4 separate regions of the Homo sapiens genome follow, and regions 1, 2 and 4 are each linked to region 3. The links are contacts of gene promoters, found by promoter capture Hi-C in human tissues and cell types (Jung and others, 2019). All regions are on one chromosome and are shown on one strand. Each heading gives the region's core, a stretch centred on a gene start or on the middle of the fragment in contact. The rest is flanking DNA. Distances are from core to core; before and after follow the strand shown. Region 1 has its middle 14 kb from the start of TAT-AS1. Region 2 overlaps LOC124903709 (a long non-coding RNA gene). Region 3 holds the start of VAC14 (VAC14 component of PIKFYVE complex). Region 4 overlaps TAT (tyrosine aminotransferase).

What was found. Contacts are between HindIII fragments. The study calls those that stand out against the background at their distance.
Region 1: a fragment that was not itself captured here is called in contact with the fragment with the promoter of VAC14 in region 3 in 1 of the 25 tissues and cell types used here (dorsolateral prefrontal cortex).
Region 2: a fragment that was not itself captured here is called in contact with the fragment with the promoter of VAC14 in region 3 in 1 of the 25 tissues and cell types used here (dorsolateral prefrontal cortex).
Region 4: a fragment that was not itself captured here is called in contact with the fragment with the promoter of VAC14 in region 3 in 1 of the 25 tissues and cell types used here (dorsolateral prefrontal cortex).

What each region holds. Positions count from the first base shown.
Region 1 is chr16:71,549,398-71,552,766 of GRCh38, reverse strand. No RefSeq gene overlaps it. Among named protein-coding and RNA genes, the nearest start is that of TAT-AS1, 14 kb to the left of the region's middle. The HindIII fragment of the contact is 3,015 bases long and covers 30-3,044 here.
Region 2 is chr16:71,467,675-71,471,326 of GRCh38, reverse strand. It overlaps LOC124903709 (a long non-coding RNA gene), which reads right to left. Exons shown (of 2, transcript XR_007065105.1): 2 at 2,612-3,652. Among named protein-coding and RNA genes, the nearest start is that of ZNF23, 7.3 kb to the right of the region's middle. The HindIII fragment of the contact is 3,482 bases long and covers 266-3,652 here.
Region 3 is chr16:70,799,713-70,803,173 of GRCh38, reverse strand. VAC14 (VAC14 component of PIKFYVE complex) reads left to right here and starts at 2,016. Exons shown (of 19, transcript NM_018052.5): 1 at 2,016-2,377. The coding sequence starts at 2,274. It overlaps HYDIN (HYDIN axonemal central pair apparatus protein), which reads left to right. Exons shown (of 86, transcript NM_001270974.2): 86 at 1-1,090. RefSeq lists enhancers at 1,981-2,040, 1,708-2,330 and a silencer at 2,121-2,310. The HindIII fragment of the contact is 10,557 bases long and covers 1-3,461 here.
Region 4 is chr16:71,568,206-71,571,617 of GRCh38, reverse strand. TAT (tyrosine aminotransferase) reads left to right here. Exons shown (of 12, transcript NM_000353.3): 7 at 1-12; 8 at 787-939; 9 at 1,221-1,349; 10 at 1,681-1,764; 11 at 2,809-2,907; 12 at 3,334-3,412. All of the region lies in intron 2 of TAT-AS1 (TAT antisense RNA 1), which reads right to left. Among named protein-coding and RNA genes, the nearest start is that of TAT-AS1, 4.9 kb to the right of the region's middle. The HindIII fragment of the contact is 5,920 bases long and covers 1-3,412 here.

The sequences.
Region 1 (3,369 bases), core at 288-2,787, 750 kb before region 3:
CCAATCTGGGTGCCTTTTATTTCTTGCCCAATTTCCCTGGATAGAATCTCCAGTATGATATTGACTACAAAGGTGAGAGTAGACATCCTTGTCTTATTTTTGATCTTGGGGGAAAAACATTCATTCTTTCATCATTAAGTATGATGTTAGCTGTGGGTTTTTAATAGATGCTCTTTATCAGTTTGAGGAAGTTCTATTGTTGATTTTTAAATCATGAAAGGTTGCTAGATTTTGTCAACTGTCTTTCTGCATCTATTGAGATGGGTCAAGTGGTTTTTATCCTTTATTCTATTAACATAGTGTATTGTGTTAATTGATTTTACAATGTAAAACCAACCTTACATTTCTGGACAATTCCCAGTTGAAAATGGTGTATAATTCTTTTTACATGTTACTGGATTCCATTGACTAGTATTTTGTTGCTTTTACATCCATAGTCATAAGATATATTGGTATGTAGTTTTTTGTGTGATATGTTTGTCTGGTTTTTCTATCAGGGTAACATTGGCTTCTAGAATGAATTGGGAAATGTGTACTATTTTTCTGTATTTTGGAAGAGTTTGAGAGGATTCATAGAAATTCTTTAAATGTTTGTTAGAATTCACCAGCAAAGTCGCTTGGGCTATTCTTTATGAGAGCTTTTTTTTTTTATTAGACGGAGTCTCACTCTGTCACCAGGCTAGAGTGCAGTAGCGTGATCTCGGCTCACTGCAACCTCTGTCTCCCGGGTTCAAGCAATTCTCCTGCCTCAGCCTCCCAAGTAGCTGGGACTACAGCCGCGCACCACCACACCGAGCTAATTTTTGTATTTTTAGTAGAGACAGGGCTTCACCATGTTGGCCAGGATGGTCTCGATCTGTTGACCTAGTGATCTGCCCGCCTCGGCCACCCAAAGTGCTGGGATTACAGGCGAGAAATTTTAAATTACTAATTTAATCTCTTTACTTGTTATAGGTGTTTTCGGATTTTCTATTTCTTCTTGAGTTAGTTTTGGTAGTTTGTATCTTTCTAGGAATGTGTCCATTTCATCTAAGTTATCTAACTGGTTGTTTTTAGTATTCCCTGATAATTCTTTTTTATTTTTGTAAGGTCAGTAATAATGTCCCTCTTTCATTTCTGATTTTAGTAATTAGTCTGTTTTCTTTTGTTGGTCAGTCTAGCTAAAACTGTCTATTTTGTTGATCTTTTCAAAGAACCAAATTTGGTTACACTGATTTTTTTCTCTCTCCCACTTCTCACTCTCTATTTCCTTTATTTCTGCTCTAATTTTTATTGTTTCTCTCTCTTGCTCTCTCTCTCTCTTTTTTTTTTTTTTTTTGAGATAGGGTCTTGTTCTGTTGCCCAGGCTGGAGTGCAGTGGTGCAATCATGGCTCACTGCATCCTCGACCTCCCAGGCTCAAGTGATCCTCCCACTTCAGCCTCCTGAGTAGCTGGGACTGCAGGTGCACACCACCATCGCTGCTAATTTAAATTTTTTTTTTTTTTTTTTTTTAGAGATGGGGTCTCACTATGTTGCCCAGGCTGGTCTCAAACTCCTGGGCTCAGGTGATCCTCCTGCTTTAGTCTTCCAAGGTGCTGAGATTATAGGCATGAGCCACCATGCCTGGCCTATTGTTTCTTTCTTTCTTCTTGCTCTGGGTTGAGTTTGATTTTCTTTTCTTCTGTTTTCAAGGTGGAAGTTTAGTTATTGATTTGAGATTTTTCTTCCTTTTTTAACATTGATATTTACAGCTAAATATTTCCCTTTAAGCACTATTTTAGCTCTATCCCATAAGTTTTGGTATGTTATATCTTCATTTTCATTCATTCTTTTAAAAATATTTTCTATCTCTTTATTGATAATATTTGTTGGATGAGACATTGTCAACATACCTTCCTTTAATTCTTTAAGCATGGTGTCGTTTAGTTCTTTGAACATATTTATAACAGGGGCTTTGAAGTCTTTGTTAAGTCCAACATCTGGGCTCCTCAAAGGCATGTTCTATTGCCTGATTTTCCCCCTTTTTGTTTTTGGGTCACACTTTTCTATGTCTTTGCAAATCTCATAATTTTTGTTGAAAATTATGCATTTCAGATAAATTTTATAGATTCTGAATATTAATCACCCTCTCATCTGGGGCCCGTTATTTGCTTTTTTTTTTATTTCTTTAGTGACTTGGCTGGAACAGATTATTGAAATCCATTTCCCTCATAGTGTAATGTTGCTCCTTAGAGAGTGAAGCCTTGGCCATGCACATAGTCCCTCTGATGAGCTGAGATTACTGGAGTTTTAGCAGGGTTCTCTTTAATTATATTTTCTCTGGTCCCCTGTTAAGCTTCTTTCTGGTCTGACTTTCTCGGTAACATATCCAGCTGTTAGCTACCAATAACTGCTAGCTGGTTGCTCTATTTTTTTTTTGTAACAATGTCTGGGGCATAAATTGCTCCATCACCTGATTCAGCTAGTCAGGTCCCTTTGCTGGGGCGGTCTTTGAGGCTTGCTTCGAGCCCAGGAGGGCTCTGCTTAGCTGTCTCTTTCCCTGGTTCTCTGTTAAACTTCTAGCTGGTCTACCATTTTATTTGTTGCTAGTAGTTTAATGGAGCTAAGAGACTCCTCCTAATTGTTTACCACCAAAATCTCCAGTTTTTGACAGCACACTTAGGCATGAACTTCCTCACATTTTCCTCTAAGTACAGTAAGTCCTTTTATTTTATTTTATTTTATTTTATTCTATTTTATTTTATTTTAGACAATGTCTTGCTCTGTTGCTCAGGCTGGAGTGCAGTGGCACGACCTTGGTTCACTGCAACCTCTGTCTCCCGGTTTCAAGCGATTCTCTTGGATCAGCCTCCCGAGTAGCTGGGATTACAGGTGTGTGCCACCATGCCTGGCTAATTTTGTATTTTTAGTGGAGATGGGATTTTGCCATGTTAGCCAGGCTGGTCTCGAACTCCTGACCTCAGGTGATCCACCCCCGCTGGCCTCCCAAAGTGCTGGGATTACAGGCATGAGCCACCGCACCCAGCTCAGTAAGTCCTTTTTGAAAGAGTCTCTGAGCTCTCTATTCTTATGGCCTTCTCTCCCCCTGGACAGAATCTCTGCCACTACATCAGAGTCGGGGGGACAAGGAATGTGGTCCACTTCTTCTGAAATGATACACCTGCCTTGCTCCACAAGTGGAGCCTTGGATTTGGATGGTAGCCCCTAGTCTTTCTAGCCTGCGCCTCCTGGCATAAAACCTATGAGTGAGCTGGTGTGGAGGTAATTGAGACAATTTTCTGAGCCTTCTGTGCCTAGGAATAGCTTCTGCCATACAAGTGGGGACTGGGTTTTGGAAGGAAACCCCAGTTGAGTTCCCTGCCTCAACTTCTGAATAGTAAAAGAGCTT
Region 2 (3,652 bases), core at 757-3,256, 670 kb before region 3:
GATACCTCTGAGATGCACGCACATCACTTTGGCACACCTCTTGCTTTCGCTGTAGCTGCGGTGAACAGTTGTATGTGAACTTAGAGCTCCCTTTGCACTGCTCAAACACTCCACATGCCTTCTGACATTCTGCTTCAGGCACTTTTCCAGAGCTCACTCAACTAGGAAGCACAGCCTGCGAATACACAGGGCAAGTTAGCAATCCCAGAAAAACCCTTAATGATGCTGGACAAGAGTTTGAGGATAAAGGTTCCAGTTTCCCATCTTTCAAGTGGACAATTAGAGGAGGAATTCTTTACTCTTTCCTGGAGGTCCCAGTGCTCATAGCATCAACCTTTAGAACACTTCATATTGTCATTTCCTCCTATCCTGTCTCACTCCTTGGGTTCTTTTAGTACTGCTTCCTGGGATCATCTCCTGAATAAATGTGCGTTCGAGTCCTTGTCTCAAGCCCTGCCTTCAGGGAAACCCAAACTAATGAGAGGGAGACAGAACTTTCAGGCAATGAGAATGTGTCTTATATTCTAGTAGTGAATATTAGTAGTCTACTCAACTGAAATCCTTTAGATGTTAGAGGATGGCCCAGATGAGCATTTTTGTGATGAAATCCCATTCTGTTTTCAGTGGTGGCTGCACATTTCTTATTTCTACTTCAAAGAAGCTTCCTCTCAGAGCAACTATGCTGTGGGGCACAACGTTTTCGTGTGTCACTGAAGTGCCTAATTTTAGATAGACTAAGTTGTTTATATAACTGTAGCTATGTGTGGCCAGGAGGTAAAACATGGTAAATATCACGGTTATCAGCCTGTAAGGAGGACCTGGCAATGCATGTCCCTCAGATTATCAACTAAAACAAGCACTTGGAGCCATGCAAATAAAAGAATCCTTAGAAGTATGCCACATACAATAAATGATTTTATTAATTACTCAACTTTTTTTTTGACACAGGGTCTTGCTCTACCACCCAGGCTGGAGTGCAGTGGCACGATCATGGCTCACTGCAGACTTGCCCTCCCAGGCTCAAGTGATCCTCGTACCTCAGCCTCCCTAGTAGTTGGGACTACAGGCATGCGCCACCACACCCAGTTTATATATATATATAAATTTTTTTTTTGAGATGGAGTCTCGCTCTGTTGCCCAGGCTGGAGTGCAGTGGCATGATCTCGGCTCACTGCAACCTCTGCCTCGTGGGTTCAAGCGACTCTTCTGCCTTAGCCTCCTGAGTAGCTGGGACTACAGGCAAGCGCCACCACGCCTGGCTAATTTTTGTATTTTTAGTAGAGATGGGGTTTCACCATATTGGCCAGGCTGGTCTCGAACTCCTGACCTTGTGATCTGCCCACCTCAGCCTCTCAAAGTACTGGGATTACAGGTGTGAGCCATTGTGCCCATCAATTTATGTATATTTTGTAGAGACAAGGTTTCACTATGTTGCCCAGGCTGGTCTAGAACTCCTGAGGCCAAGCAATCCTCCCACCTTGGTCTCCCAAAGTGCCGGAATCACAGACATGGGTCACTGTGCCTGGCAATAAATATTTATTTAGTGACTTCTGTGTGCTAAGCAACATGCTAGATGATAGCACATGATGACAGAACATGTTACTGATGAGCAACATGGAGCTTCTCTCCAGTTCCTGGTGCTACTGCCTTGTTCTGAGCCACCAACATTTCTTTCCTAGACTACCACAATTGCTCCTTAAGTAGTCTCCCCACTTCTGCTCTTGAATCCTTCTAATCTATCTGCCAGTCAGCAGCCAGGTGTGCTTTTAAAAATATGGAACATAACATGCTTTTCTTAAAACATTTCAATGGGTTTCCATTGACCTTGGAATAAAATCCAAACTCTTTAACATGGCCTGCAAAGCTCTAATGACTTCATGGCGCAGCACTTCCTCCCTCCTCTCTCCCCATGATGTGTCAAGCTTTTTTTTTTTTTTTTTTTCCACTGAAGGGCCTACACATGCTATTCCTCCTGCCTGGAATGCTGTCTCCTTGATTATGTGCCCAGATAGTTCATTCTTATCTTTCAGGTCTCAGCCCAAGATCAAGATCACTTCCTCAGGCCTTTCCTTACCTCCAAGTTAAAATGGTATTCCCTTGATATTATCTCCTAAACACCTTGCTCTTTACCTCCCTCACACGAATGAAAGTTTACAATAATATATTTATCCAGGTGTGGATTTACTTAAAAGTTGTGTCCCCCACTACAGTCTATGTTCTACAAAGACTGTAACATGTAAGCTTTGTTTTTCTTCATCTATAAAATAGATATAATACCTACTGGATCTTCTTCAGTATGGATGTGAAGAAAGCATTACATAATAAACATAAATGTGTCTAATAGTTAATGAAGTGCAATTCAGATTAAAGATGTCTTTGGGCCAGGCATCATGGCACATGTCTATAATCCTAGCACTTTGGGAGACTAAAATGGTTGGATCCCTTGAGGCCAGGAGTTCCAAACCAGCCAACGCAGCATAGCGAGACCCCATCTCTACAAAAAAGAGAAAAGAAAGAAAAATGTTTTCATGGCTCAGAACACCTGAATGCAAGGTAACTCACCAGGAAAGGAGTGTAAGTTAGTTGAATAAAGCAATTGGAACACACGAAGTTTCAGGTTTTATTACATTTTTATTATGTTCAAATAGTGTTGAGGTAATTTATTGTTAACAACAAGAACAATACATAGCTTCCTTGTCTTTTAAATCTTTCAAATACAAATAATTCATGTTAACAAAAATTTATATGATGTAAGAAAGCTTCCCAGAAGAGCCTCTCTTAGCCATTTGGGCCCACAATAAATTATCATCCTTGGAATCTCTGGATTTTGAGGCAGAGTGATAGAGAAGACAAGTAGGAACTGGGGCACTGGGTGATACGTGTCAGGTTCTGACCAAATGAATTCAAAGAAAGGAATAGGGTGAGATTAAGTATTTGGATATCAGGCTTAAAATATAGCCAGAGGGAGGCTGGGCATGGTGGCTAATGCCTGTAATCTCAGCACTTTGGGAGGCCAAGGCAGGTGGATCACCTGAGGTCAGGAGTTCGAGACCAGCCTGGTCGATATGGTGAAACCCCATCTCTACTAAATATACAAAAATCAGCCAGGTGTAGTGGTGGGCGCCTGTAATCCCAGTTACTCGGGAGGCTGAGGCCAGAGAATCGCTTGAACCCGGGAGGTGGAGGTTGCAGTGAACTGAGATCGTGCCACTGCACTCCAGACTGGGTGACAAGAGTGAGACTCCTCAAAAACACACACACATATATAGTCAGAGGGGACCAACACACCAGGTTGGAGGACAATGGTTCTGAGGCCAGCCCCAGAACCTTGGAGAGCGCCACAGACACACCCCCCCCCCCCCCCCCACTGAGTCGGAGCTAGCACCTTGGACAGCACCACGGCTTCTCTGTTTTCTACTGCTGTCCTTTGTACCTGGATGACACTAAACACAGGTTGTAGTGGTCACTGTTAATTTCTTGGGGCTTTCCACTCCGGTGTACCTGGCAATTGTAATCCTCTAAAATCAGCAGTCTTTTACAAGGTTCTTTATGACACGGTGGGGGTTGAGATTCTTTCTCTTCCTTCTAGAAACTTCAGCATCAGAGCTGATAATTGGACCGATTCCCTTGGGAGGTCTATGGGATTGGTACC
Region 3 (3,461 bases), core at 767-3,266:
GGTAAAAAAAAAATTCCTTATTGTTTGAATTATTAAAAACTGTATCATTACCCTTGGGAAATTCAGTTCACCTCTAAGAAAAAGCCAAACCAAAAAGCAAAAGAAACATGAAATATATTAGATATGCGTCCCGTGGAAATGCACACACATTGGAGAAATAGAACCAAATCATTCCCATTGATTTACATTTTTTCAGTGTTTTTCATCAACCATCATCAAAATCCTAAAACCAAACTTTGCAAGACATTTGGAGATGTCCTTGGCAGCACTACTACTACTTGTTAGCGCACCTACCTTCATTCATAGGATTGTGTCAGCAAAGGTTTTAACAACTATGAAAACCCCACCTGTATAGGAGAATACATTTTTTATGGATTTTTCTAGACATGATATATCCATGACTTGCCGAGTTTTGGATTAGCCTTTGTATTCATTTTCTATGGCTGCATAACAAATTACCACAAAACTAGGAGAGCAAAACAACACAAATTTATTATCTCACAGTTTCCATGGGTTGAGAGCCCAGTGTGAACTGGATTCTCAGCTCAGGGTTCCACAAGGCTGAAATCAAGGTGCTGGCCAGCTGCATCCTCATCAGGAGGCTCAACTAGGGAAAGATCTGCTTCCAAGGACCCTCAATGTGTTGGCAAAATTCATTCCTTTGTGGCCATATGACTAAACTCCTTACAGGAGAGTCTCTCTTCCAGTTCAAATTTCTTCTAATCTCTTTTAAGTACTCACTTGATTCGGTCAGGCCGACTCAAGTTAATCTCTCTTTTTATTAATTCAATGTCTGCTGATTAGGGACCTTAATTACATCTGCAAAATCTCTTCTGCGATATTACATAATATAATCATGTGAGTGATGCATAGCCCATCATATTTACAAGTCTTGTTCACGCTGAAAGAGGGCATAATACAGGGCATGAACACGAAGGGGTGGGAATATTGGAGGTCATCCTAGAATTCTGCCTACTTTTGCCCTTTACTCATTGCGTCCCTGTTTCTGTTGAGGAAAATACTCCATTTTCAAGACTGTTATAAGGCCTATATATGCACTTTTCATTCATTAAAGAAAAGTATCACCATGCATTCTGAAACTGTTATTCTTTGAGCTCCACTGTAATCTAGCCCTTGTCCTAAGTCCCTGTTCACTCTGAAAGCTTATGATAGGAAAGGCTGATGCACCTCCCTGTTAACTGCATGTTTACCACACTCCGGCCATAAATTGCTTTTAAATATTTTGCCACATAGTTGGGATTTCTGTCTCACCATGTAATGTGATTCCCGAAGCAGCTGAAGGGGCTGCTTTCCAGGGGACCTATCTAGAGACCCGCACTCAGCAGATCTGGGGCCTTTCTCTCTGTCTGTAACCAGCCCTCCTAGGCATCAGAGCATGTTAAACACACCCCCAAATGGTGGAGTGACAGACACTGGTGGTACCTGAGATCTTAGGTGGTAGACAGGTAGTGCCATTTTTAATTGAGAATTTATTTTGATGTGTCTTAGAAAAAATATACCTATTCAAACTCATGGTTTTAGGGCATAAGCAAAGCTAAAAGAGATTTAAGGTATTTTTTAAAGTGAGTTGATTTGAGGAAAACATTAAATAGATAATACAAGTGGCTAGAATATGGTGAAAGTGATGACAGTGTTACTGCAGTTAGGGAAACGTCTGCATCTAGGAAATTGGTAAGTGACCAACTACTGAATGAACTAGTGAATTCGGTGACTATTGAATAAATTATGTTAAGTGAATCAGACTCCAAGAACCCATTCGGTCTTACGAACGTCTACAGAAGCCCACCACGTGCCATCAGTTGGGCGTGAGCTACACACCCATTAAAGCACGTCTCAAACCACACTCCAGCTACCTGGCGCGCAGCGCGATAGTGTGTGCAGTGTGGGTGGAGCCTTCCGAGGGCGTGGCCAATCCACCTGCGGCCTGCGGTGGGGGCGTGGCTGGAGAGGGGCGGGCCCTCGCGACGGAAGGCGGAAGTGCTGTAGAGTCATGTGACTCGAGTAACATGGCCGCTGTCTCGTGAGTCCCGCTAGTGCCGGGCGGGAGTTGTTAAGCGGCCAGGGTCAGGTGTGCTGGAGCGGGGTCCGGGCCCGGGTTCCAGGGCGAGGCGGCGGAGCGTGGCAGGCAAGCCTAGAGCGGCGTGGTCCATGCGCCGGCGCCGGGGGCAGAGCGGAGCCGCAGACTCCCCTGGCCCCGGCGCGGCCCCGGCAGCCGCGGGCTAAGGAGTCGCGAGGTTCCCCCAGCTGCCACCATGAACCCCGAGAAGGATTTCGCGCCGCTCACGCCTAACATCGTGCGCGCCCTCAATGACAAGCTGTACGAAAAGCGGAAGGTGGCAGCGCTGGAGATCGAGAAGTAAGAGCCGCCAGGACCCCTCCCTGGCTATGCAGCCCCTGACTGCTCTGCTCCCCAGGGGGACTTCTCACGCCTTCCCAGCCAGGGTTACTTTCCCAGGTTTTAGGCCCTTACCTTAGCGCAGTGTTTAAGAGCAGATTGGGAGCCATATCTGGGAGTCCCTGCTTTACTCCTGACTGGCTGTGTGATTTGGTCCCAGCTTTTTAACCTCCCGGTGCCACAAAGGGCTGCAGTGAGAATGAAGTGACATCATGTATGGGTAGTGCTTTGCACAGTGCATGGCACATGGTGAGTCTTCGGTGCGGTGCCACCCAAACCAGCAAATCAGAGAGTTGTCTCTGTGGTGAGAGAGAAGTCAGAAGCCGGAGAATTTGCAGGTGATGCTGACCAGCCTGGTTTCTTACCCAGCTTCTGAGAAGTGAAGGAGATTGTTAGTGACCAAGTAGAGAAATCAGGTCGGAAAACTCGTGATCTCAAGGCTCAGAGAGTTTTTTGTTTTATCTGTGTTATAACACCCTTCCCTGCAAGTGGAAGTAGAAATAATTTGACCTTTCTTGCTTCTGCAGTCTTGTTACATGTATGTGTAACAATGATCTGATATTTTACTTTATTTCCCAATGTACAAAACAGCGAAAGTTTAACTGGGGATGTTTTATTTATTTTTTTTTCTGCAGTATTATTTTACTTTTGTGGGTTTTTTCCCAGTCACATTTTAGTGTTAAAGTCAAGTGAGTGAGTGATTTCAGAAAATTGGAAAGAAGCAGGCTGTGAAACTGGAAGAATACCAGTCTGCGAGTCAGAAAAGGTGAATTGTATTTCTGTTCTGTCCAGTAGAGTAGCCGTTGGCCGTGCGTAGCTATTATAAATTTAAATTATTAAAGATTAAACTTTAGTTTCTCAGTCACACTACCCGTATTTCAAGTGTTCAATAGCCACATGTAGCTATTGGCTGCTATATAGGGCAGCACAGATTATAGACTGTTTCCATCATTGCAGAATGCTCTATTGGACTGCTCTAATCTATTCCGTGGTGTGACATTCATTCGTTAACCTGGGGCAAATTCCTTAACTCAGGGTTTCTCAG
Region 4 (3,412 bases), core at 913-3,412, 770 kb before region 3:
TATGGAGACATGGTGAGTCTTGATCAGGATATATCACTACAGTAATCTCAAATTATTTTATGGGAACTTTAGAAGTGGAATAATCAGAAACAACTCCTAATCGTTTCATTACAGCAAATCAGCATCCCTGCACTTTTTACAAATATATAGACCCACAACTCCTTAGCCAGTTTTCTGAAACCCAAAGAACTTTGGAAATCCAAAGATTCCTGGAATTCATTTGGTTACAAAACCTGATTTGACCTGATATTTGTAGATTTTTATTTTTCCCACTTGTGGATCTATATATTTGTTAAGAGTGTGGGGAAAATGGCAGAAATGTTAATATTCTTGATTAGGGGTACTATCCTAGACAGCTCTGGGAGTGTTACATAACGTATGGTAAGTGTGCTACATGGCCTTTCTGAAGCCCAAACCATTTTGCATTATGAAAATACCTGGCCCCAGGAATTTCAGATAAGGGATTGTGGACTTATATTTTAAATCTGTAACTCCTATAGACAGTAATTTCATAGAGCCAGCTTCATGGAGTTGTAAATATTACTGGGCTAGGGTCAGTTTCCTCATTTTAGGCTTCCTTTAATCCAGTCCAGACACCAAATTAAATGTCTTTGTGTAGTCCCCTTCAAAGCCTCTTGCAATCCCAGTCATGCTTCAGGGTAGGGATGATCCCATTAATCCAAGGACCTGTCCCTAGTGATAGAAGGAAATGGGTGGGAGCCACGGGATCTGGGATTGCAGTGAGAAGTAGACAAGAAAACAACCATAACAAGTGCCTCTTCTCAGGTGTTTTCGGATTGCAAATATGAACCACTGGCCACCCTCAGCACCGATGTCCCCATCCTGTCCTGTGGAGGGCTGGCCAAGCGCTGGCTGGTTCCTGGCTGGAGGTTGGGCTGGATCCTCATTCATGACCGAAGAGACATTTTTGGCAATGAGGTGATAATATGGTGAAAGAGTATGTGTAATTTAGGGTATATATTTATTTCATGAGCACAGTGGGGACAAGGGAGGCTTTTTTCTTTTCTTTCTCCTTGTCAGTCAAGCAGCATGTGTGTGGCAGAGCTGGGCTACGAACCCAGAGGGTCTGATCTAAGAATGCCACTAGACACCATCACTTTCCAAGATTAAAAACCTGATAGAAAGGTCAGAACAAGAAACTCTAAGACAGAGATGCTTAAGAAAAGCTAAACAACATGTTTCTTGTGGGTGTCTTTTAGATCCGAGATGGGCTGGTGAAGCTGAGTCAGCGCATTTTGGGACCCTGTACCATTGTCCAGGGAGCTCTGAAAAGCATCCTATGTCGCACCCCGGGAGAGTTTTACCACAACACTCTGAGCTTCCTCAAGGTAAGGGCAGCTCCTGCCCTCCACTTTGGGAGTTTGGGAGTCAGAGAATGCCGCCCGTGGAATTAGGAATAATTGGTTCTCCTTTCTGGAGCCATGTTCCAATATTAGGAGACGGCATCGGTGTAAGCATCCACACACACGTTTCTCACTTCCGGCCATTCTCTCTGCCCCTGGTGAAAAGCTTCAAGTAATAGAGCTTTTTCTTTTTCACTCCTTATGCCAGAACATCACACCTACGTTCCCACTCTTCAATGAGGGGGCTATTTTTAATGACTTGGCTTTTCTTTTACTTAAATTTTGATCCTTGATTTCTCCTTGCCTCTTCTTGTAGTCCAATGCTGATCTCTGTTATGGGGCGTTGGCTGCCATCCCTGGACTCCGGCCAGTCCGCCCTTCTGGGGCTATGTACCTCATGGTGAGTATGTGGGTGGCAGGCACTAGGTCAATGCATGTTGTAAGGCAAAGGGCAGTCATTCAGCAGAATTGCCACAGGCAGTCACGCAGGGTACAAAGACAACCAGCTGGCCTCCTAAGCCAAGCAGTTTAGGAGTTGTCTTATTCTGAATTGTCCCACTGAGGTAATTTAGCCTCTATCAGTTCTCATAAAACTCTTTAAATGACTTAATTAGGCAGGGCATGGTGGCTCACGCCTGCAATGCCAGCACTTTGGGAGGCCAAGGTGGACGGATCACTTGAGCGCAGGAGTTAGAGACCAGCCTGGGCAACATGGTGAAACTCTATTGTCTCTACAAGAAATAAAAAAAATGAGCTGGGCGTGGTGGCACACTCCTGTAGTCCTAGCTCCTTGGGAGGCTGAGATGGAAGAATGACTTGAGCCTTGGAGGTTGAGGCTGTAGTGAGCCATAATCGTGCCACTGTACTCCCGTCTGGGAGACAGAGTGAGACCCCATCCGAAAAGAAAAAAAAAAAAGATTTAATTTTTCAGTACAGAGAATCATTTTATATATGTAGATACAGGGAAGATTTAAAACACAAATAAGAGGCTTTTCATACCATTGTAATTCTCAACTGGGAGTGATACTGGTTCCCTAAGGGTATCTGGGAATGTATGGGAATTTTGTTTGTTTTCAGAATGACTAGGGGCTGCCATTTTGTGGGTCAGGGATGTTAAATATCCTGCAAGGGGTGGGCTAGTCTCATGCCATAAAGAGTTGCCTGGCCCTAATGCCAGTAGTGTCTCTTTTGAGACATACTAGCATTCTATTTCCAGCTTTTATTTATCAGCATCAGGGAAGGAACTCTTTAATATTTATTAATAAAAATATATCCTGTCTTCCCTGAGAAAAATTCCATAAATATTAGCCCTCTTATTTATCAGTGATCAGTAGCACAGTTCCAAGATATCTTTTAAAGTAGCCCCTACCTTAATTTCTGGCACAGGAAATTGGCCTGTTCTCCCTCCTTCTGATAAGTTGGCCTCTCCCTCCTGTTGGTATAGGTTGGAATTGAGATGGAACATTTCCCAGAATTTGAGAACGATGTGGAGTTCACGGAGCGGTTAGTTGCTGAGCAGTCTGTCCACTGCCTCCCAGCAACGGTGGGTGCCTGTGTCCCTCAGGACATTCTCAACAGTTTCTAGAGCCCCAGAAGCAAGTTCTGAGCTGGTTTTTAGCCTGATCTTTTCTCCTCCAACAAAATGTCTTCTCATTTGATAAGATTCAAACTGATGTGTCTCATGGATCCTATTTAAAATTTGCTTCTCCCCCCCATCATAATCCCATCCATACTGGGAAGAAAAGTTGTAAACAAACGTTCTAGGTGAGAGGAAATTGATCCTGTCCCACAAGTCATTTTAAGATGAATGAACTCAGTTGCTGACTTAGCATCCCAGTCATGGGAGCTGAATGAACTGATGGCCCTGATGAAATGGTACCACTTCTTGTGGATCAGGGTCCTGACCATTTTAGGGTGGTCCAGTACCAGACTCAATTGCTCTGAAAGTAACAGACTCTTCTTTTTGCAGTGCTTTGAGTACCCGAATTTCATCCGAGTGGTCATCACAGTCCCCGAGGTGATGATGCTGGAGGCGTGCAGCCGGATCC